Linked DNA regions of Homo sapiens: all the other regions are linked to region 7. The links are contacts of gene promoters, found by promoter capture Hi-C in blood cells and fetal thymus (Javierre and others, 2016). All regions are on one chromosome and are shown on one strand. Each heading gives the region's core, a stretch centred on a gene start or on the middle of the fragment in contact. The rest is flanking DNA. Distances are from core to core; before and after follow the strand shown. Region 1 overlaps FANCM (FA complementation group M). Region 2 overlaps PRPF39 (pre-mRNA processing factor 39). Region 3 overlaps LOC107984674 (a long non-coding RNA gene). Region 4 overlaps FKBP3 (FKBP prolyl isomerase 3). Region 5 holds the start of SCFD1 (sec1 family domain containing 1). Region 6 overlaps MIS18BP1 (MIS18 binding protein 1). Region 7 holds the start of TRAPPC6B (trafficking protein particle complex subunit 6B).

Region 1 (3,003 bases), core at 44-2,543, 6.0 Mb after region 7:
GCTAAGCTTGCACTCAAAGCACAAGATGAAGTCCTTCTCACTCTTTCTTTCCACAGGCAGAGGAGCCTCTCCCCATGGTCACCACTACCATAGGCCCATGAGGTGTACTGCCAGTCTACTGCTGATTTTCATTTAAGGCCCAAGGACTCTTCAGTCAGCTTGTGCTGAATGCTGCCAGGCCTGGGACTCACCCTTCAGAGAAGTGGGTTCCCCTCTGGCCTGGGACAGTTTCAGAAATGCTGTTCAAGAGTCAAGGCCTGGAATCAGGTCCCCAAGAGCCCATTTGTTGCCCTTCCCCACTGTGGCTGAGCTGGTACCTGAGGTGTAAGACAAAGTCTCCTTTACTTCTGCTTTTCTCAAGCAGAAGTTTCTCATCATAGCCATCATTGCTAGAGATGTGCTGGGTTTCACTGGAAGCCAGCATGTCTAAGAGTCTCACCCAAGGCCCATGACATATTACCTGGGTATTGCTGATGGTTATTTAGGGCCCAAGGGCTCTTTAGTCAGCAGGTAATGAATCTTGCCAGGACTGTGTTCTTCCCTTCAAGGTAGCGGGTTTCCTTCTGGCCCAGGGTACGTCTAGAAAAGTTGTCAGGGAGCTAGGGTCAGGAACGGAGACCTCATGACTCTGCCCTGTCCTGTTGTGGCTGAGCTGATATCCAGGATGCAAGACAAAGTCCTCTTTACTCTTCCCTCTTTTTTCCTCAAGCAGAAGGAAGGAGTCACTTTCGTTTATGTGAGCTGCCCAGACTGGGGTTGAATGAAGGGTGGTGCAATCACTCCTTTAACTGTCCCACCTGGTGTCTCACTAGGTCACGTGCCCCCCATGTTCATCGTCTCCAGAGCATTTGCAGGAACTTAAGTTCCAACCACTAGGATGGGGAATTCCCTTCTAGCTAGGGCTGGTCTAAATTCTCCTTCTGTGGTGGCATTGACTGAGTTCCACCTGGTTTTGCTTTTCACTGTGACAGAGCAACACTTAGTTCAATGCACAGTCTCCCAGAAACTGCACTCTCCTTCCCCCAGGTTCTTAGATTCTTTCTCCACACCACAGGGCCTCTGGGGGATGAGGGAGGGGTGGTGTCCATGATTCAAGATTGTGTTTCCTGGCTGAGCGTGGTGGCTCACACCTGTAATCCCAGCACTTTGGGAGGCCAAGGCAGGCGGATCAGGAGGTCAGGAGATCGAGACCACACTGGCTAACACAGTGAAACCCCGTCTCTACTAAAAAATACAAAAAAATGGCCGGGCGCGGTGGCTCACGCCTGTAATCCCAGCACTTTGGGAGGCCGAGGCGGGCGGATCACGAGGTCAGGAGATCGAGACCATCCCGGCTAAAACGGTGAAACCCCGTCTCTACTAAAAATACAAAAAATTAGCCGGGCGTAGTGGCGGGCGCCTGTAGTCCCAGCTACTTGGGAGGCTGAGGCAGGAGAATGGCGTGAACCCGGGAGGCGGAGCTTGCAGTGAGCCGAGATCCCGCCACTGCACTCCAGCCTGGGCCACAGAGCGAGACTCCGTCTCAAAAAAAAAAAAAGAAAAAAAAAATACAAAATATTAGCCGGGCGTGGTGGTGGGCACCTGTAGTCCCAGCTACTCGGGAGGCTGAGGCAGGAGAATGGCGTGAACCCGGGAGGCAGAGCTTGCAGTGAGCCGAGATCATGGCATGGCACTCCAGCCTGGGTGACAGAGTGAGACTCCGTCTGAAAAAAAAAAAAAAAAAAAGGATTGTGTTTCCTACCTCAAAGTGCCTCTTTTAGCAATATGAAGTGAATACCAGGTACTGTGATTGCTCACTTGATTTTTGGTTCTTATGAAGGTGCTTTTTTTGTGTAGATAGTTGTCAAATTTGATGTTCTGTGTGGGCGATTATCTGTATTTCCATCTTGCTCCATGCTTCCAATGATAGCTTTTAACTCTTGCAAGCTGCAAGACTTTTTTCTTCTATCCTTTTTTTTGATGAGCTTAGAAATTCTATCCTATCTCTGGTTTTCTCCCTGACCTCGTTTAAACATTCATGTTTTTCAGTCAGCTTAAAAATGTCATCCCCCTTTGGGAGGCCGAGGCGGGTGGATCACGAAGTCAGGATATCGAAACCATCCTGGCCAACATGGTGAAACCCCGTCTCTACTAAAAAAAATACAAAAAATTAGCCGGGCATGGTGGTGGGCACCTGTAGTCCCAGCTACTCGGGAGGCTGAGGCGCAAGAATGGCGTGAACCTGGGAGGCGGAGCTTGCAGTGAGCCGAGATCGCGCCACTGCATTCCAGCCTGGGCGACAGAGCAAGACTCTGTCTCAAAAAAAAAAAAAAAAAAAAAAAAAAGTCATCCCTTCAGAAAGGTCTATTCTAACTAAGCTATCTTGTCAGTGTTCCTTATTTTGTTATTTTCTTCTTAACATTTGTGATAATTGGTCATTCTTTTGCGTATTGATTATTTTGGTCTTTCAGCGCCAGTAAAATATCAGCTACATGAATGTAGGGATTATGCCGATTTTGGTCGTTTCTCTGTCATTAACTCAATACCTGGCATGTGGGAGTTACTCATGTATTTCTTTCATGAATGAACTATTAAAAGCAATAAGCTTAATTTTATAAAATGGTCACAAATGTATTCTAGATTTTGAATACGTATAGGCCGCCAGTGATTATGGTGTGCCGTATTGGGCACTGCGCCAGGTATTGGGAATACCAAGATATGATTCTTGCCCCAGGCTGTTCCCCGCCCCCCCCAAAACCAAGCCCTCAAAGCTTTCTTTTTTTCTTTTCTTTTTCTTTCTTTCTTTTTTTTTTGGAGACAGGGTCTTGCCCTGTCACCCAGGCTGGAATACAGTCGCAACTGTAGTTCACTCACTGCAGCCTAGAACTCCTGTGTTCAAGTGATACTTCAGCAGGTGCTTGCCACTTCGCCAGCAATTGTCATTTTTTTTGTAGATATGGGGTCTCACTATGTTGCCCAGGGTGGTTTCAAATTCCTGGCTTCAAGCAGTCTTCCCAACTTGGC
Region 2 (2,787 bases), core at 30-2,529, 5.9 Mb after region 7:
TGGAGTTTTATTTTTCCTTAATGTGCTTCTGTTTTAATTCTTACTGGTTCCTGAGTTTTGTGCCTATTTTACCAAAAATATATAAATCCTGTATTTTGTTCTAACTTTTCTATAGTTTTTTGCTTATTCATTTATCTGAATTTAATTTCTATCTGTCGTGAGATAGACATTAGCCTTTTATATACTCCCACTGTTGAATTAAAGTATCTCCTATATCATACACCAAATACTCACACACATTGATCTCTTTTTTGTTTTCTTGGCTCTGTACTGTTCATCCATTTTTCTGTTACCTGGCCAGTGCCAAACGTGTAATTACTATAGCTTCCTAGTTTCTTATATTATCTTTCAGGAAAATGCCTGCTGCATTATCCTTTTACAAAGTCATTTTGCATTTTTGTATTCTAGATGAATAGTAGAATTTGATTTTTTCTTGTTCCACTAAACATTTTTTAGCGCTTTATTGAAATTGTGTTAAAATTGTGGTTTAACTTAGGGGAGTGTAGTTTTATACTTTTTAAAAATCTCTCTTGATTCTAAGATACTTATCTTGAAAGTATGTATCTAAAAGCTTTATCCCATTGGAGTATTAAATCCAGTGATTAAAATTGCTTACAGAAATCTCTTGACATGACTAGGTATTTTAAAATACTTTGTAACAAACTTTTTTTTTTTCTTTGGAGACAGAGTCTTGCTCTGTCATCCAGGCTGGAGTGCAGTGTTGAGTGGTGCAATTTCAGCTCACTGCCACTTTCGCCTCCCAGGTTCAAGTGATTCTCATGCCTCAGACTCCCGAGTAGCTCGGATTACAGATGTGCACCACAACGCCTGGCTAATTTTTGTATTTTTAGTAGAGATGGGGTTTCGCCGTGTTGGCAAGGCTGGTCTCAAACTCCTGGCCTCATGTGCTGGAATTACAGGTGTGAGCCATCGTGCCCAGCCTGTGATAAAACTTTAATGATAGAATTTTAGAATTGAGAGGGGCTTTTGAGAGGTTTAAAGTATATGTATACTTTTTTTTTTTTTTTGAGACAGAGTCGCGCTCTGTCGCCCAGTCTGGAGTGCAGTGGTGCAATCTTGGCTCATTGCAACCTCCGCCTGCCGGGTTCAAGCAATTCTCCTGCCTCAGCCTCCCAAGTAGCTGGGACTACAGGCATGTGCCACCATGCCTGGCTAATTTTTTGTATTTTTGTAGAGATGGGGTTTCACCATGTTGGCCATGTTGATCTTGAACTCCTGACCTAAGGTGATCCTCCCGCCTCAGCCTCCCTAAGTGCTGCGATTACAGGCATGAGCCTGTAATCACGCCTGTAACCATTTCACCATGCCTCATGAAAATATTCTTAAATTGAGATAAAATTTGCCTCTCTTTAACTTCCTACTTGTTTTAATTTTGTCTTCTGTCATAAATCAATCTATACAATAGACATTTCAGATTTAACAAATACTTACATGTCTACTCTTACCTATTTGCAATGTGTACATTTTGTATTTAATTTTCTATTTGATAAAGTTACATAAAAAGTACATTTATCTATTCTCTTTGTTTTCTCACTCTTTTTAAGCAGCTGTTGTATGCTTTCTGTTATTCTGTCTACCCTTTAATCCCTACTTGCATAGGAAGCAGTTGAATATAATTTTTGAAGTTAGCATTATCTTCTAAATTTAGAAATAATATTTTAAAAGTGATTTTATCTTGGAAAGATAACTTAAGAGTAATTTAATTTTTCAGAACTTTTGAGCATGCTGTTCTAGCTGCAGGAACAGATTTCCGTTCTGACAGACTGTGGGAAATGTATATAAACTGGGAAAATGAGCAGGGAAACCTGAGAGAAGTTACAGCTATATATGATCGTATTCTTGGTATTCCAACACAGCTGTATAGTCATCATTTTCAGAGGTAGGTGGGAAATTCTGATCATTGAAACATCTTTGATTACTCAGATAGTTGGTAATATTAAGTATTATAATTATCTTGGAATGTTATGTAAGCTTTTATTATGTGGAAAGAGGAATAAATTTTGTTGCTAATCACAACCTACATGCTTGCTTTTGACATTTTTTCATATGCCTTATGAAATGTTTAGAAATTTTACTGTTTTTAGATAGAAGTTTCTCCTTATTCATTTTAATGGATAAAGAGAAACAGGAATTCTGTCTTGTCTAAGGTAGTTCAGAGTAATGAAGGAATGAGAAAATAGTACCTAAGTTGAGTTATTTATTTATGGCATTAAATTGACACAGTGCCTGGCACATGATAGATGCTTATTTTTTTTGAAACTTAATGATTTGCTAAATATACATTATTGTGATTGCTATAACACCTTATATCCAAAACAGTGAAGGATGCATTTTATATAGTAAGTAGTATCTATTTTCAAACACTCAGGTATCATTCCATTTTAATTTTCTAAAATGATTTTTCTGTTACAATTGGTATCCTTTTATTTTAATGATTACTGTTAAAACAACTAATTCTGTGTCATTATTTTTGTGTTCTGTTTTCTGCTTTATTCAGAGTATCCCATAAATAAGGATCCAGAAAGTCTTTCTGAACGAGTATGAGGACTGTGTCTTTGCTTTTAAATTGGCATGTTTTCTATTTTTTGTTATAATTTTTATGAGTAGTATTGTATAAACTTAGTATTTTCTATTTTTTGTTATAATTTTTATGAGTAGTATTGTATAAACTTAGGTACTTTTTAAGTGAGTGATTTTCTAAATTTTTTTTTTAGTACCAAAAGTAGAAGACTTTTATGAAGCATTTGTAAAGTACTAAGGATCAAT
Region 3 (3,021 bases), core at 375-2,874, 6.1 Mb after region 7:
GAGATTACACGTGTGAGCCACCGCGCCTGGTCTTTCTTTTTTCTTTATACTCCTCAGTCTGGATAATTTTGATTGTAGTCAACAGTTGTAAGTTCACTCATTCTTTATTCTGCCTGCTCAAATCTGCTATTGCAACCCTCTAGTAAATTTTCATTTCAGTTATTGTATTTTTCAGCTTCACAGTTTCTACTTGGTTTCTTTTCATAATTTCTATCTTTGTTGATATTTTCTATTGTTAACACATCATTCTTCTGGTTTCCTTTAACTCTTTGTGGTTTCCTTTACCTCTCTGAGCATATTTAAGACAGTTGATTTTAAATTTTTGTCTAATATGTTCAGTGTTTGTGCTTCTTTAGGGAGAGCTTATATTAATTTCTTCTGTAAATAAACCATACTTTCTAGTTTCTTTGCATGCTTCATAATGTTTTTGCTGGAGACTGGACATTTGAATATTAAAATATGCTAACTCTGGACATCAGATTCTTCTCTCTTCTTAGGATTTGTTGTTGTTGTTATTGCTTCCTGTGAAATATAGTTGTTTGCTTGTTTAGTGACTTTTCTATATGATCTTTGTAAAGTCTGTATTCTTTGTCCTGTGTGGTCTCTGATGTCTCTATTCCTTTAGCTTGTGTTCAGGGGTGCTTTGATAGATATTTTCCTGATCACCAGGAGCTATCCTAGAATAGAATAAAGTAATAAAAGAAAAGAAAGAAACAACAACAACAACAACAACAACAAAAAACCCTCTTCCAACCTTTGAAGATTGGCTGTGTGTTAGAGCATGCTTTCAGTACTTAGCGAGGCCATTTATAACTCTGCCTAAGCCTTCACTCCCTGCTTGTGCTGAGCCCAAAGATAAGCCAGAAGTAAAAGCTTAGGGTCTTTTTAGATTGTTTTTGAACATGCATCCTGTCCTAGGCACGTGCATAGCTTCTAAATTCCTCAGTATATGGAGACACTTTTGAATAATTTCCCAGAGAAACTCTACCCAGCTTTTCCTTGCAGGCTTTCACTGCATCTATTATTTGCCTCAATTGTAATTCTTTGTCCTAGGTGGCAGCATGTTGTCCATTTGTCTTACAATGTTTTTGAGGAATGTCTTTTGTGTAGCTGTTTTTTTTTCATGCTGAATAGGTTTCAAGTTATGTAAAACAAAGTCAGGTGCCTTCTGTCATTCTTTCAAGTAGTACTCTCTGATGGTAAATTTTATGTGTCGATTTGACTGCATCATGGATTGCCAGATGTTTGGCTAAACATTTTTTTCTTAGTTTGTCTGTGAGGGTGTTTTTGGATGAGATTCATTTTTGGATTGGACTGAGTAAAGCAGATTGCTCTTCTCAGCATGGATGAGCCTCATCCAGTCTGTTGAAGGCCTTAATAAAATAAAAGGCTGAGTAAGAAAGAATTCTTTCTTTTGGCCAGAATATGTTTGAGCTAGGACTTTAGTCTTCTGCCTTTGGACTCATTCTTGGACTTGAACTTACAGCATTTGTTCTCCTGTTTCTCAGGCCTTCGTACTTGGTGATATGGTTTGGCTGTGTCCCCATCAAAATCTCATCTTGTATTGTCATTCTCATAATCCCCACATGTCATGGGAGGGACCTGATGGGAGGTAATTGAATCATGGGGGCGGTTACCCCCATGCTTGTTCTTGTGATAGTGAGTTCTCATGAGAGCCAATGGTTTTATAAGGGCTCTTCTCACTTTTGCTCAGCACTTCTCCTTGCCACTGCCATGTGAAGAAGGATGTGTTTGCTTCCCATTCCACCATGATTGTAAGTTTCCTGAGGCCTCTCCAGCCATGCTGACCTGTGAGTCAATTAAACCCCTTTCCTTTATAAATTACCCAGTTTTGGGTATATCTTTATTAGCATTGTGAGAACAGACTAATACACTTGGACTGGAACTATACCATTGACTCTCCTGGGTCACTAGTTTACTGATGCAGATCTTGGGTTTCTCAACCTTCAATACTTCAATGAGCCAATTCCTTGTAGTAAATCAATCTCTTTCTCTTTTTTTTATTCTCTCTCTCTTTCTCTCTCTCTCTCTCTCATTCCCTCTTTCCTGTTGGTTGTGTTTCTCTGGAGAATCCAGACTAATACACTGCCAAATAAGTTAGAACAGACAAACACAATTCTCTAAGCATAAGGTCTGTGCTCCCTCCACAACCAGGGACCAAGGTCCCACACTGGAAATGGGTGCTGTCTTCAAGACTGCTGCCAAAGGTGCTGAGATGCTGAAGAAAGCAAGCTGAAAAATCCCGTTCTTCAGAAAGAAACATTTAATAGGACTTATGAACAGAAGCAATGTCTTGGGTGGGCATGAGATGGTGGATCCCTCTACCTGCCCTCCAGAAAATATCCTTTGTAAAGCAAGCTTTTAGGGTAAAGATTTGTGTAGCTTGTCATGCTTCAGACTTTCTTGTGAAACGTGACTACTGGGGAGATTAGATAAGCATCTTTATTTATGCTACAGGGATTGTTTATTTATGAGACGTTTTCCATGTTACAGGCATTCTTAAAGACCTTGCTGCAGGAGTCATCATGGTCATCATGGTAGTTTCACTTCAAGGTGGCATCACTCTTGTCATGCAACAGGCTCTTTTCCTATGGGGGGGGTCAATAAGGGCAATCAAAAATGCTGCAAAGCTTTTGTACAAGAACATTTCCTCTTTTAAATTTTTTAATTGACAAATAGTTATTGTACATGTTCATGGGGTACATGGTGATGTTTTTATACATGTAATGCTTGGTGATCAGATCTGGTTAATTAGCATATCCATGATCTCAAACATTTATCTTCTTCTGGTGTTGGAAACATTCAGTGTCTTTTTTTTGCTGTTTGAAATTATATTTATTTTTTTTTCTTTTTTCTTTTTTCTTTTTGAGACAGGGTCTCTGTCGCCCAAGCTAGAGTGTGGTAGCACAATCTTGGCTCACTACAGTCTCTGCCTCCCAGGCTCAAAGGATCCTTCCATCTCAGCCTCAGGATTAGCTGGGACAACAGGCACATACCATC
Region 4 (3,089 bases), core at 131-2,630, 6.0 Mb after region 7:
GAGAGCATTAGTCCTGAAGGAGACATGAGAAAGAAAAAGGGACGCAAAGATTCAGAGAAATTTTAAGCTCAGAAGAAGGGAATGGCAATGGCTAGACATTCACATTTTGGCACTACAGAACACAGGAGCATATAATGAGAAGGGAGTCCAGGGGCAGTGGCTCACGCCTGTAATCCCAACACTTTGGAAGGCCTAGGTGGGCGGATAACTTGAGGTCAGGAGTTCAAGACCAGCCCAGCCAACATGGAGAAACTGCGTCTCTATTAAAAATACAAAAATCAGCTGGGCATGGTGGCGCCTGCCTGGAGTCCCAGCTACTGGGGAGGCTGAGGCAGGAGAATCACTTGAACCCAGGAGGGGGAGGTTGCTGTGAACCAAGATGGCACCACTGCACTCCAGCCTGGGTGAGACTTTGTCTCAAAGACAAAAACAAAAACAAAAAAAGAGAAAGGAGTAAGAAGGGACTGAGAATTTGTGAGAAAATGTCAAATACTTTATGTGAGCAATGAGCAATGTGATGGAGAACTGGGCAAAGGATAGTATAAATGTTGTTGAGTAGCAATGAAACTAGAAAACATGCTTGGCTAATATTAAGCATGAATTTATACCAGGCTCAATAAAAGGTTTTATGATTATATGTTTATAATGCCTGCTCTCCAGTCCCAAAGCATGAAGACAGAGAGTAGACAACGAGGGTTAGCAAGGAAATGGACAAGAGGCTTTTGAATGTAGGACGCTAGGAAAACAGTCACAGTACATAAATGGGCTCAAGCTGGCCAGTTAAACGAAGAGGTTTTAAATAAAATGATAGAGTTTAGGACCCTCATAAGCTTGCTCTAGATTGTCTCTAGCTCTTATGAATTTACCTTTTATTTTCTTAACTCCTTAATGAAATATTATCTGTCTCCTAAAACCATCCTCATTCTAATTTCCTGGAGGGTGAACTATGTTGCCAGTTGCTTCTGAAACCCTTCAATAATAATTGCTCCATTTACCTTAGTAGCTACTCAATAGATATAACATTTATTAAATATTAATTGTGATAAACTTTAAAACTGCTTTGTGTGCACATATACCTATAAACATTAATTTGTGCTTTTTAGCCAATAGGAAAAGATCATGCAAAATTAACTAGCTTTAATCAAATAAACATCTATAATTGTATAACTGAACTTACACTTTCCACAAATACCCAAAAGCTACACTGTCATCAATAGCCTCACCTCTTTACAAGAACTAAAAATAGATTATTATCACTGATACTAAGACTGCTGGCAATGAGTGAGCTTAGATAGTAAGGTATTATCAGAAATGACAAGATTATAATCAATTCAGCTCTGCTAAGTCAGTTCTTAGTAGCTGATCTTAGCTCTACTAAGGCTGTCAATTTGCAGGAATGAATTAATCTGGTTCTTCAAACCTTTGTACCAAAGTATAAAACCTGAGTTGGGAAAACTGAGACAGATGAACCCACATCCTGCAGCCAAGCCTGGATTATTTCTATTGCCAGGGACACCATGTACATTAGAAAAAGCTAAAAATAATCAAAAGAAAATGTATTTCACTTAGTCCAACTTGGCTATAGAATCAAGGCCTTAAAATAGCTTTGAAAGCTCAGAAGGTCTGGACAGATGTGGAGGCGATATTAAATACAATATCAGAAGTGTTTCACAGAATAGGCTAATAACTGTAAAGCACTAGTTCTTAGGATTATTTCTGTCCCAGTACACCTAAGGGAAATGGCCCACTACATTAAGTGTTTGGCTCATTGAAAGTGGTCGTATTCAACCACCCTTCACTATGAGAAGTTAGTGCAAATAATAAAGAAATAAATACAATTTCTAGACTCCACATGATAAAATAAAAAAATAATTATATACAGACCTCATCCAGGGTCTCTTCAGACTTGGTTTCTTTGGGTTTATCTTCATTAAGCTTCACATTTTTTACTTGCTCAGACACTTTACTTATACTTTCAGTACCCTTAAAACGCTGTAAGGAAAATGTTGTAACATCATACCCAGGACAGGCTAAAACCAAGAAGCAACATCAAGATTTTCAGCCTCTCAATTAAATGAACATCTGCATAATAAATATAGGTTGTATAACACAATTGTGAATAAATGGTCTAAGGAAACGAAGAGCAAAGAAAGAATTTTGCTCATAATTTATTTTTAAACAATAAATGATTACCCTCAAACCAGCTTACAATATAAATTCTGAAATGAGAACCATGACCTTAGAAAGGCCAACTCATACCCAGAGATATAAGCACTATTCAAATAACTCCTAAATAAAGATTTCTTTCCTGTGGAAGATATTCATTTCATAGTAAACAAATGTGGGAGAATGTCTTAAAATGTATTTTTGTAAAGCTCAGCCTAAATCTAAACCAGACTTTAAATTCATTAGTGAAATGGAAACTTATTTTCAATATAACATTTAACATATATAATAAAACAACAACAAAATACATTTAATATACACCATATGCTAAAGTAATACGGTAATACCACTGACCTAATGAATTTATAACTTCAGTGGACTTAAGAATTTGTTGTCTCAATTTAAGCTACAAAATCCAGACCCTTTGAAAATACTGAAACATTCTGCCATACTGCAGATTAGCCTTGCTAGATTTGACAGCTAGTCCACTTATGATAACAGTTCAGAAAAATTACAGGTGGAAAAGCTCCAACACATTCAACAAATCAATGCATTTTAAACATCTTTTTTGGAAATAAAATTTCAAAAGTGATGTTCTGCTAACAGAATCTAACAATACTCACCTTAGTTTCAAAAAGATGGTTATAGGCTGTAACCAAGTGGTCCTTGTTAGCTGTCTTGGCCACATTTTTAATGTTTCCTAATAATTTATGTTCTGCAAGAAACTATAAGGAAAAAAGCTGGGTAATCAAGATAACTTCTCCCGAGTAAGAAGTGTCTAAAATTAGAAAACGATCCTTTTATGTTAGCAGTTGTGTTTTCAGTAGTACTAGTACTGAAGAAGAAATAAAGCCTATAGTTTATACTCTTTGTTACAAAAAAAGTAAGAGATTTTTTAAAAATTCGGTATTTACAAGAATTAG
Region 5 (2,804 bases), core at 144-2,643, 8.5 Mb before region 7:
GGCAGAGATTATGTAATAAGATAACCTGTTTTAAATGTCACAAAAATAAATTTTTATTAATGAAAAAAGCCAGTGTTTCACACTATAAAACAATATATAATCGTTAGGCTAACCATTTCATTTATATAATTGTGAAAGTTAAGCTTTTGAGGTACAGAGTGATTTCATTTCAGAATTTGGTGCAACTTCATAATGAAGCGTCATCAATGAACTCGGGAAATGAGGTGTCATTGTGTATCCATTTTGGTCATACAGTAAAATCTATGGATTAAGTTAGAAATCATCTATCCCATATATTTTGCGGTCACGTGGCTTCAAGTGTACATTAAACCGCCAGCACAAGACCAGCCTGGCCAACATGGTGAATCCCCGTCTCTACAAAAAAAAAAAAAAAAAATTTAGCCGGGCGTGGTGACCCCTGCCTATAGTCCCAACTAGTGGGCAGTCTGAGGTGGAAGGATAGTTTGGGAGGATCGCTTGAGTCCGGGAGGTCGAGACTACAGTGAGCCGAGATTCTGCCACTGCACTCCAGCCTGAGCGACAGACAGTGAGATACTATCTCAAAAACAAAACAACAACAAAAACCAGCACATCAGCCTGGCCTGATGGTGTGCCCCTGTAGTCCCTAGCTACTTGGGAGACTGAAGCAGGAGGATCGTTTGACCGTCAGAATTTGAGGCTGCAGTGATCCCTGATTGCGCGCTCCAGCCTAGGCAACACACCCCACTACTGCTTGACTTCCTTCCCACGGCAAGGTGATTTTGCAATTACTACAAGGAAAGAGGAGAAATGCTAATTTCTCATTTTGTACCTCCCTGGATCCCGTGTCCATGCCGGCAGAACGCCACCATAAAGCTACACCTTTTTTTTTAAAGAGATGCGACTGAGAAATATGCCAGATCAGAGTAATGCTCCAATGCTTTCCGTTTCTCTGGAGAAAGGAGCAAAGGGAAGACTCCTGCTGCACTGAGAAACGAGAGCTAACGTTAAAATGTTGCCTGTGTTTCAGGAGCTTCATTTACTTCAGTCCTGTGGTCCTTATACTCCTAGAGCATTATCACCCTTTAAGTGCTCTGTAAGTCACCAAACCAACAGTTCAGTAATTAGGTTCTTAGCACTACACGCTCCTACCCTAACAGCTCAATTTAATGTTGCTACCATTTGAGAGAGTGTGGCTTGATTCGGTAGGATAAAAACTCTTAGTATTCGCCTAACATTACGGGCCACTGAATTAACCTGCACCGGGTCTCCCAGTTCTACCGAGAGTGGAGGTCTTCCTGGAGGAGGTGGGGTCCGGAACTCAGGCACACCCTTTGGCCCCGCCCTTCCGGGCTTTGCTTCCGGGGCGGTAAGGGCAGCCACGTCATCCCCCCGCTCCGCTCCCCAGCCGGGCAGTGGCTCGTGGGAGCCAAGATGGCGGCGGCGGCGGCAGCGACAGCAGCAGCAGCAGCCAGTATTCGGGAAAGGCAGACAGGTACTGACTTATTCTCTTCTCCTTGAAGCTTCGTGACTGCCCCGACGACATCCTTCTCCTCTGGTGCGTGCAGCTCAGAGACCGATCTCCAGGAGTTTAATCCAGTCCCTAGAACATCAAGAGCCCCTCCCCTTTGAGTTTTTGGGGAGAAGTTGCCATTAGCTTGAGGACTCGGTTCCTCCTGTGGTGCAGGAGAAGGAGCTTCAGCGGTGGGCGGATTGCTACGGCCCTGCTCTTGTCTCCTTCCTAGTGGGCATCAGAAGGCCATCACAACAAGATCTAGCAGCTGATAGCTTCTTATCTATGTTGCCACCTATGAGGTCTCCGAGTTTCTGTGCGTGGTTCAGTTCTCCTGGTTTTGATTTTTAAGAGAACTCCCATTTTCTGACACTCAGAGAATTTAGGTATTTTCACAGCGGCTTGCTTTGCGCCACTTCTCTACTTCGGACCAGTCTTTTGGGGGTACCTGCAGAAAAATGCCTGGTGATAAACATTTTCTCCTTCAGCTTGCTGGAAGGCATTGAAGAATGGCAAAACAAATGAATTAATAGCTTTCTCATTTTAATTGTTTGACACATTGTTTTAAAATAATATTTTATCTTCAATAGAGCATGTTTATATAGCTTCTATTTATGCAGAGAAATGTAAAAAGGCACATATTCTTCTCTTGAGTTTTGGGTTTTTTTCCGTCTTAGAAATTAGTTTTGCCTTACTTGAAAACTTCTCATGACAACTTGGTTTATACCTGTTAGCTACAAACTAAAGGTTTATACTTGTTAACTAGTTGTCTTAAAAGTTTTCAAGCAATTTATTCTGAGGAGCTAATAGAAATAAGGCATCAAGAATGTGCATACTTGGAATTCTGTTTCCTGAAATTATGCTCTGTTGGATATAAATATGAATAGGAAAATAAATTTATAATTCATATGACCTACAGAAGGGATTTGGGCTGTACTTGATTCCTTCCTTTGGCATTTAAAGAAAAAGTGATAGACTTCAATTTAGTAATGACACACAAAAGATACTGAGTTGCGTTCTGCTTTTCCCAGTAAATAATTTAGTATAACCTATCAGGTGAAGTCAGGCATAACTAAATATAGGGAAGTTCAAATAAGATTTGGGGCATACCTGCCATTCGTTGTATATGTTTAAACAAATGGAAGCTCCATTTGTTTTAATACTGTGTTTCTGATGACTATACTACATATTAAAATAACGTGTCAGTAAAACTGTACCAATACAAGAGAGCTTTTTGAAAAATAAATTTGCGTGGCCGTAAACTTGTATGCAGAAATTTTGTAGATCATTAAAATCTAATCGTTTGTATTTC
Region 6 (2,996 bases), core at 293-2,792, 6.1 Mb after region 7:
GGACTGAGAAGGGATGGGCAGCAATGTAGCAGAAAATCAGGAACGATCCTGGAATACAAAATATAAAGCGTAACACTTCTTTAGAAAGACATTTTGGGGCCAGGCGTGGTGGCTCACACCTGTAATCATTTCCTTTTACTTTAGGTGGTAAGGACATTGCCCTTTCAATTGCCCCCTCAATTTTCTCCCTACCTACACGCACTCTCTAGGCTGTATTTCCAGTGTCATAGTTTTAAATTCCATCTCTATGCTGATAGCTCTCCAATATGTTTCCAGCACAGAATATTCTTCTCAACTCCAACCATGAATACACAGACCTCTTTCAAATGTCTTGCTATATAAGGGAAACAAAAAGTAGTGTAGCAGCTGGAGTTGGACAGGGGATAAAGGAAAGATGGGCCTTTGTTTGCATGTTTTTAAAAAATGCAGGCCATGTTTCAACATGTTTATATGTTAATGAGAATAATCCAAAAAAAAAAAAATTTAGCCGGGCATGGCAGCATGTGCCTGTAGTCCCAGCCACTCAGGAGGCTGAGGCAGGAGATTTGCATGAACCTGGAAGGCGGAGGTTGCAATGAGCTGAGATTGTGCCACTGCACTCCAGCCTGGGTGACAGAGTGAGACTCTGTCTCCAAAATAAATAAATAAATAGATAGATAAATAAATAAAGTTTAAATATTTTCCAATAATGGGATTTCTAGCGAATATATTGAGATATAAAACCATAACTGGTATGTCACTCTTTAAAATTTAGATGGCTACAAGGGAGGCTTAAGTGGGAGGATTGCTTGAGCCCAAAAGGCTGGCCTGGGCAACAGAGTAAGGCCTCATTTAAAAAATTAATTATTAATTAAAATTTAGATGGAATTTATACATGATCTCAACTTGATAACCACCATCATACATTTAAGAATTAATGGCTGGATGCAGTGGCTCACGCCTCTAATCCCGGCACTTTGGGAGGCCGAGGCGGGAGGATCACTTGAGGTCAGGAGTCAGAGACCAGCTTGGCCAGCACGGTAAAACCCCGTCTCTACTAAAAACACAAAAATTAGCTGGGCATGGTGGCAGGCGCCTGTAATCCCAGCTACTCAGGAGGGTGAAGTAGGAGAATCGCTTGAACCCAGGAAGTGGAGGTTGCAGTGAGCCAAGACCACGCCATTGTGCTCCAGCCTGGGTGACAGAGGAAGACTCCAGCTCAAAAATAATTAATTAATTAATGGGCAAACCTCTAACAATTGGAAATTTTACACTGCATCTTCCTCCTTAAGCTTGTATTTCCATTCCACTTCCTTCAGAGAATTTGTCCTAATGTAACAGTTTAATGCTCTAAAGTCTTTCATTGATTACTCTGTATTTAATTTGGGAAAAATTCTCAAATCTTCAGATGCTACAGTTCCTTTCTATCTTAATTAATCTAACTATTTTAATAGTACTGTAAGTATCAGAAAAAAAAGAGTAGGAATGAATTCAATGTTCATCACCAAAAGGAACAAGTAAATTATTGAAGACTACACAACTAGTAATAGAGCAAAATAAGACTTAACATGTGGGTCTTCTTACATTCAACTCACTGTTCTTTTCACTATGTCACACTGTCACTGCAGTAAATAATAAAACATGATAATGAAGACACTGTTAATAATGAAGCATACAGGTTCAAATCCTAGCTAGAAAAAAAATAATGAGAGAACATTAAAAGCTCAAGCTCTTGAAGAACGGGGTAAAAATAGAAATAAATATCTGTCTTAAAAGTTTTCCCACCTGATTTTTTTTAAGTCCATTTGTAACAGTTTGAAATATTCTTGGAGGAGAAAGCTTTGAAATATTTCTTTTTGACCTCCGAGGTATTGTTATATGAAGTCTTGGTGTTGCAAGTACAATTTTACATGTATCTTTCATGGAACCTGGAAGACCTGTCTCTCCAGGCACTGTTTTTCCATTTCCTTCCTTAACTTTCTGTTGCGAAGTCCCTTCTGTTGTCCTCTCACTATCAGAAACCATTAACAGGCTGCCATTTTTAATAGGAATACAATTAGTACTGAGAGTCTCAGCATTAGTATTTTGAAATTGTTCATCAGCAGAATCAACGCTTTCTAAAACAAACGTGTCCTTTTTGGATTTAGTGGTTGCAACTATACTCTCCTTTGAGTGAAAAATTTGTTTAGCCAACTGAGCTCTAGTTAATGTCTTGTTTCGGGCTTCTACAGCCAAAAAATTTTCCTGTTCTTGGTTCAGAGTTGGAAGTTCTGCAAAAAATACAAAACAAAACAAAACAAAACAATTATAGAAGGATCACAGGAAATTAAAAGAGATAAATTTAGGTTAGGAACGTTCCACCCTCCTGCCCAGTCTTTCTCTGAGTGTCTCTTTTACGATTCAAGCTTTTGTCCACAGCTAAAGTTTAATGCCCACACAAGGAAAGTAATTACCTAGAACATTTAACAATATACTTAAGTAACAAACTGAAAACAAACCAAAAATAGTTTACCGTAAGTTAAATTGTGCAGTGGTGCTTTCTTTTCCTGCTGGCACTGAATCTTTTGTTTGACCGGGAGGAAAATATCATTATTTGATGATTCTAGAGGAACTCCTTGGACTGAGGCTAAGGTTTTATTTTTTAAAGAAAGAAGAAGTTGAATTGTATTAGTCACTAAGAAAAAAACAGCTTTTAAAATTCTTGAAATAAAGACACTTAGATTTAGTAATGATCAGACCAGTATAGTACTTTTGCAATATATGACAGTTACATATATTTTTATATTTTTGGCTGTATTATCTTCTCATACCTTTACCCCATTCTCTATACCAACATTACGGTGAGGAAGAATTTTTTAAAACCTTCTCTGAACACAACCCGCCAGCTCTAGACAAAAGTATTGGACTTAGAAACCTAGAGATCTGAAATTCTGGTGCTGCCACAAATTGGATATGTATATGTTAAGATTACAATATAAAGTTTCACCCAGTCTTGAAAATTCCGATTCTGTTTCTGG
Region 7 (3,213 bases), core at 663-3,162:
GACTTGAAAAAAATCTCTATTATAGATGGGTCATTTGAATAAGAATAGAATTCGCTTCATTTCCAATAACCTTCCAAATGTATCCTGCCTATCCTTCTTGTGCAAACTGGCAGTACCTTTTTTTGGATGTCATACAGGCACCTCAAAAGTTCAACCTGCCCCGAAATAACTCATTATCTTACCTCCTTATTTTTTTCTTCTCCTTTATTTCCTTTTCTGATTAATAGTACCACCATCCAACCCAGCTGCTCAAGCTGAAAACCTGACGATAATTTTCAACTCCCACTCCCATCCTTAAACAAGGCCTACAGAATTCCACTTTCTAACTTTCAAATCTGTTATCTCCTTTTCTCACTATCCCTGTCTTAATCCAGATCTTCATCTCCTCCTGCAGTGACTCCCGTAATAAAGGATTTTCCCCCTACAAGGATCTTCCCTCTCTAGCCCAAACACTGGATTACTTTTCTAAAATGCAAATGGTCCACATCATTCCCTTCCTTAAAAATATTCCCTCGAAAAGATCCGAATTCTTTAATTACACAAAGCTTTCTAACTTCACCTCTCAATTCTTCTCACTCTCTATTCAGTCTAGTCCAAAGAAATGCTTAAGTGTATTTAAATCCACCACTCTTTCATACCTCTACCACTTTATCTTTGCCTAGGATACATTTCCTATCCCCACTCTCCACTCATTTTTTATCAATAGCATTAAAGAAAGGGCTCCTGACTTGAGCATGACTTTGGAGTATTTCTAAAATCCGTTACAACTCCATGATTCTACCAGCCAATACTCAGTGTTAACTATTCATTAAATCACTATTCCCTAAATACTGTGAGGCAGGAGTATTATTTTATTTAATTTATCTAGCAGTGTCAGCAGTGACAGGCCCACAATGATTGAATAAGGACTCCCACATATTAGAAGTAACCGCTACATACTATCACATTTCGGATTAAATTAGATTAAAAAAAAATCTCTACAAGGATGGGGCCATTGTTTCATTCACTACTATATCCCTGGCACCTAGAAATCGCTCTGACATAAGGGCACTAAATAAATACTTTCTGAAATAATTAATTTAAATTATGTTCCCTAATTATCCTAACGCCTGCAAACTTTCCTTTGCAAACTCAACCTTCATTAGGCTTCAGGTCTCAAGTTGTGTGGAGTTGTACTGAGCATTAGGAATGAGGAAGGAGGGACAGGCTTCTCAGGTTGGCACAGGTCTGTCCAGTGCATGGCTCAAGTGCTGGAAGTGCCAGCAAAACTAAGTAGGCTCTGCAGTTAACCCTCTCGTAAATAATGGCAGGGACAACACTAAAAGTACCAAAATCTGTGGCGTGCAAGACAAACGTACGGGAATAGACAAAAGAGAATCAAATAGAAGAAGATACGAAAGAGAAAACGATGAAAGATGACGGTTCAAAGGAGACAACTGACAGGTTCTAGGGTTTAGGACACCTGGAGGTGGACCATTTTGTGTACACCTCGGGAGGCGTCGGGTGGCGATGGGACAGGGGTTGAAGGAAAGCACTGAGGGGAAACAAGGTGTGTCACCGCAAAAGGACCTCAAGGTTGTGTGGCAGCACTCACCACCTCCCCCTGCTCCGCGGACTTGTACACTCCAGACACCATCTCGTTATGGAGAAGCAAAAACAACGCCTCATCCGCCATTTCCTGCTAATTCTTCCAAGCTTCGAGTTTTGGCTCCCGTTTGAGCTGGTCTGGGGGTTCCAGCTCGCGCCTCAGCGACTTCGCCGGCGCCGCGGCTCCGTCAGGCCGCCATTCTATCCCTGTGGCTAAGAGACCGAGGTATTCACACGACTTCCCAAAGGCTGGTACTGAAATGAGTCTGGTACTGGAGAGAGCCCACACTTCGGGGCTACCAAATCCTAGGGCCGAACTAAAGTCTGACGGGAGCTCTAACCAAAGCCAACCAGCTGAGATGCGATCCGGCCGCTGGGCGGGGGCGAAAAAAACAACTTCCGGTCCCCTCTACCCCGGCATTCGGCCAGCTCTATGATCACTGAGTTCCTCTCTCCCAAGCCCGGAGAGGCCAGCGCCCAGATATGAGGAAGGTTCCCCTCTCACCACGATGTCGGGGGCAGAGCAAGATAAAATAAGACCTAAAGCTCCCGCCTGGCCCGGGCGCGGTGGCTCACGCCTGTAATCCCAGCACTTTGGGTGGCGGAGGCGGGTGGATCACATGAGGTCGGAAGTTCGAACCAGCCTGAGAAACCCCGTCTCTACTATAAGTACAAAATTAGCGGGGCCTGGTGGTGCATGCCTGTAATCCCAGCTACTCGGGAGTCTGAGGCAGGAGAATCGCTTGAACTCGGGAGGCGGAGGTTGCGGTGAGCTGAGATCGCGCCACTGCACTCCAGCCTGGGCAACAAGAGTGAAACTCCGTCTCAAAAAAAAAAAAAAAAAAAGAGCTCCCGCGGCCACCTCCTTGTTAATTAGCAATAGAAGTTAAAAAAATTCTTTTGGCTTCATCAAAAGCATCCACTTCCTGCCATATGTTCTTCAAATATGAAAAGTTGTAGAAAGAGTTTAAAATATACGTTTTCACAGTGCAAATTTTTTAAATATTGAAAAGTTATCCCAATTCCTATTGAATTAAGCCCGGGTATACAAAAAGAATTAGAGCCATTTTGACCACCAGGAATTTTCCTGTTAGTGGGGTGCAAGGGACAAGGGAAGTGGAGCAAACGAAAAACAAGATACACTTGAACCGGAAAATACAGACTAATCAGAGGATTAGGTGAAAAGTGCTATAGAATTCAGAAAAGCGATGTCACTGCAGGATGGAGTTGCTAATAATCTACAGCAGTGTGAGACAACTGTAGGAATTGTCCCACTGCATGTGCAAATAAATACACATGCTACATCATAGTATGTACATCTTAAATTTGGCAAATTCAACCGTAAGCATGTTGCTTAGCCTGTGATTAGTTCTTCCATTGGTAATTCACAAAACAAAATTTTTCCCCAATTGTCCCTGTTGTTTTCCCCCAAATTAACATACCGCAAGGTGGCTCATGCCTGTAAAATCCAGCACTTTGGGAGGCCGAGGCACGGGGGGTGGGGGGGATCACGAGGTCATGAGTTTTGAGAGCAGCCTGGCCAACATGGTGAAAACCCGTCTCCACTAAAAATACAAAAATTAGCCGGGCGTGGTGACAGGTGCCTGTAATCCCAGCTACTCGGGG

What was found. Contacts are between HindIII fragments. The CHiCAGO score rates a contact against its expected background, and 5 or more counts as called.
Region 1: a fragment that was not itself captured here is called in contact with the fragment with the promoter of TRAPPC6B in region 7 in 2 of 17 cell types (non-activated CD4 T cells and total B cells); the score reaches 8.2 in non-activated CD4 T cells.
Region 2: a fragment that was not itself captured here is called in contact with the fragment with the promoter of TRAPPC6B in region 7 in 5 of 17 cell types (naive CD4 T cells, non-activated CD4 T cells, naive CD8 T cells and 2 more); the score reaches 8.5 in naive CD4 T cells.
Region 3: a fragment that was not itself captured here is called in contact with the fragment with the promoter of TRAPPC6B in region 7 in 2 of 17 cell types (naive CD8 T cells and naive B cells); the score reaches 7.4 in naive CD8 T cells.
Region 4: a contact is called between a fragment that was not itself captured here and the fragment with the promoter of TRAPPC6B in region 7, in 8 of 17 cell types (naive B cells, monocytes, erythroblasts and 5 more). The highest score is 9.9, in naive B cells.
Region 5: a contact is called between the fragment with the promoter of SCFD1 here and the fragment with the promoter of TRAPPC6B in region 7, in 4 of 17 cell types (total B cells, total CD8 T cells, M0 macrophages and 1 more). The highest score is 9.6, in total B cells.
Region 6: a fragment that was not itself captured here is called in contact with the fragment with the promoter of TRAPPC6B in region 7 in 5 of 17 cell types (M0 macrophages, total B cells, non-activated CD4 T cells and 2 more); the score reaches 12.8 in M0 macrophages.

The regions. Positions count from the first base shown.
Region 1 is chr14:45,144,535-45,147,537 of GRCh38, forward strand. All of the region lies in intron 3 of FANCM (FA complementation group M), which reads left to right. Among named protein-coding and RNA genes, the nearest start is that of FANCM, 10 kb to the left of the region's middle. RefSeq lists enhancers at 320-379, 470-579. The HindIII fragment of the contact is 2,578 bases long and covers 5-2,582 here.
Region 2 is chr14:45,100,797-45,103,583 of GRCh38, forward strand. It overlaps PRPF39 (pre-mRNA processing factor 39), which reads left to right. Exons shown (of 14, transcript NM_017922.4): 5 at 1,733-1,900. Among named protein-coding and RNA genes, the nearest start is that of SNORD127, 8.7 kb to the right of the region's middle. The HindIII fragment of the contact is 1,421 bases long and covers 570-1,990 here.
Region 3 is chr14:45,258,916-45,261,936 of GRCh38, forward strand. LOC107984674 (a long non-coding RNA gene) reads left to right here. Exons shown (of 4, transcript XR_001750746.2): 2 at 2,896-3,021. Among named protein-coding and RNA genes, the nearest start is that of MIS18BP1, 7.2 kb to the left of the region's middle. The HindIII fragment of the contact is 1,506 bases long and covers 872-2,377 here.
Region 4 is chr14:45,127,910-45,130,998 of GRCh38, forward strand. It overlaps FKBP3 (FKBP prolyl isomerase 3), which reads right to left. Exons shown (of 7, transcript NM_002013.4): 2 at 2,790-2,891; 3 at 1,885-1,992. Among named protein-coding and RNA genes, the nearest start is that of FKBP3, 5.0 kb to the right of the region's middle. The HindIII fragment of the contact is 1,105 bases long and covers 829-1,933 here.
Region 5 is chr14:30,620,926-30,623,729 of GRCh38, forward strand. SCFD1 (sec1 family domain containing 1) reads left to right here and starts at 1,394. Exons shown (of 25, transcript NM_016106.4): 1 at 1,394-1,474. The coding sequence starts at 1,414. RefSeq lists enhancers at 728-1,927, 997-1,676. The HindIII fragment of the contact is 1,359 bases long and covers 142-1,500 here.
Region 6 is chr14:45,240,270-45,243,265 of GRCh38, forward strand. MIS18BP1 (MIS18 binding protein 1) reads right to left here. Exons shown (of 17, transcript NM_018353.5): 3 at 2,492-2,605; 4 at 1,765-2,249. Among named protein-coding and RNA genes, the nearest start is that of MIS18BP1, 11 kb to the right of the region's middle. The HindIII fragment of the contact is 547 bases long and covers 1,270-1,816 here.
Region 7 is chr14:39,168,421-39,171,633 of GRCh38, forward strand. TRAPPC6B (trafficking protein particle complex subunit 6B) reads right to left here and starts at 1,913. Exons shown (of 6, transcript NM_001079537.2): 1 at 1,595-1,913. The coding sequence starts at 1,675. RefSeq lists enhancers at 1,371-1,960, 1,720-1,769, 2,551-3,140. The HindIII fragment of the contact is 6,900 bases long and covers 1,694-3,213 here.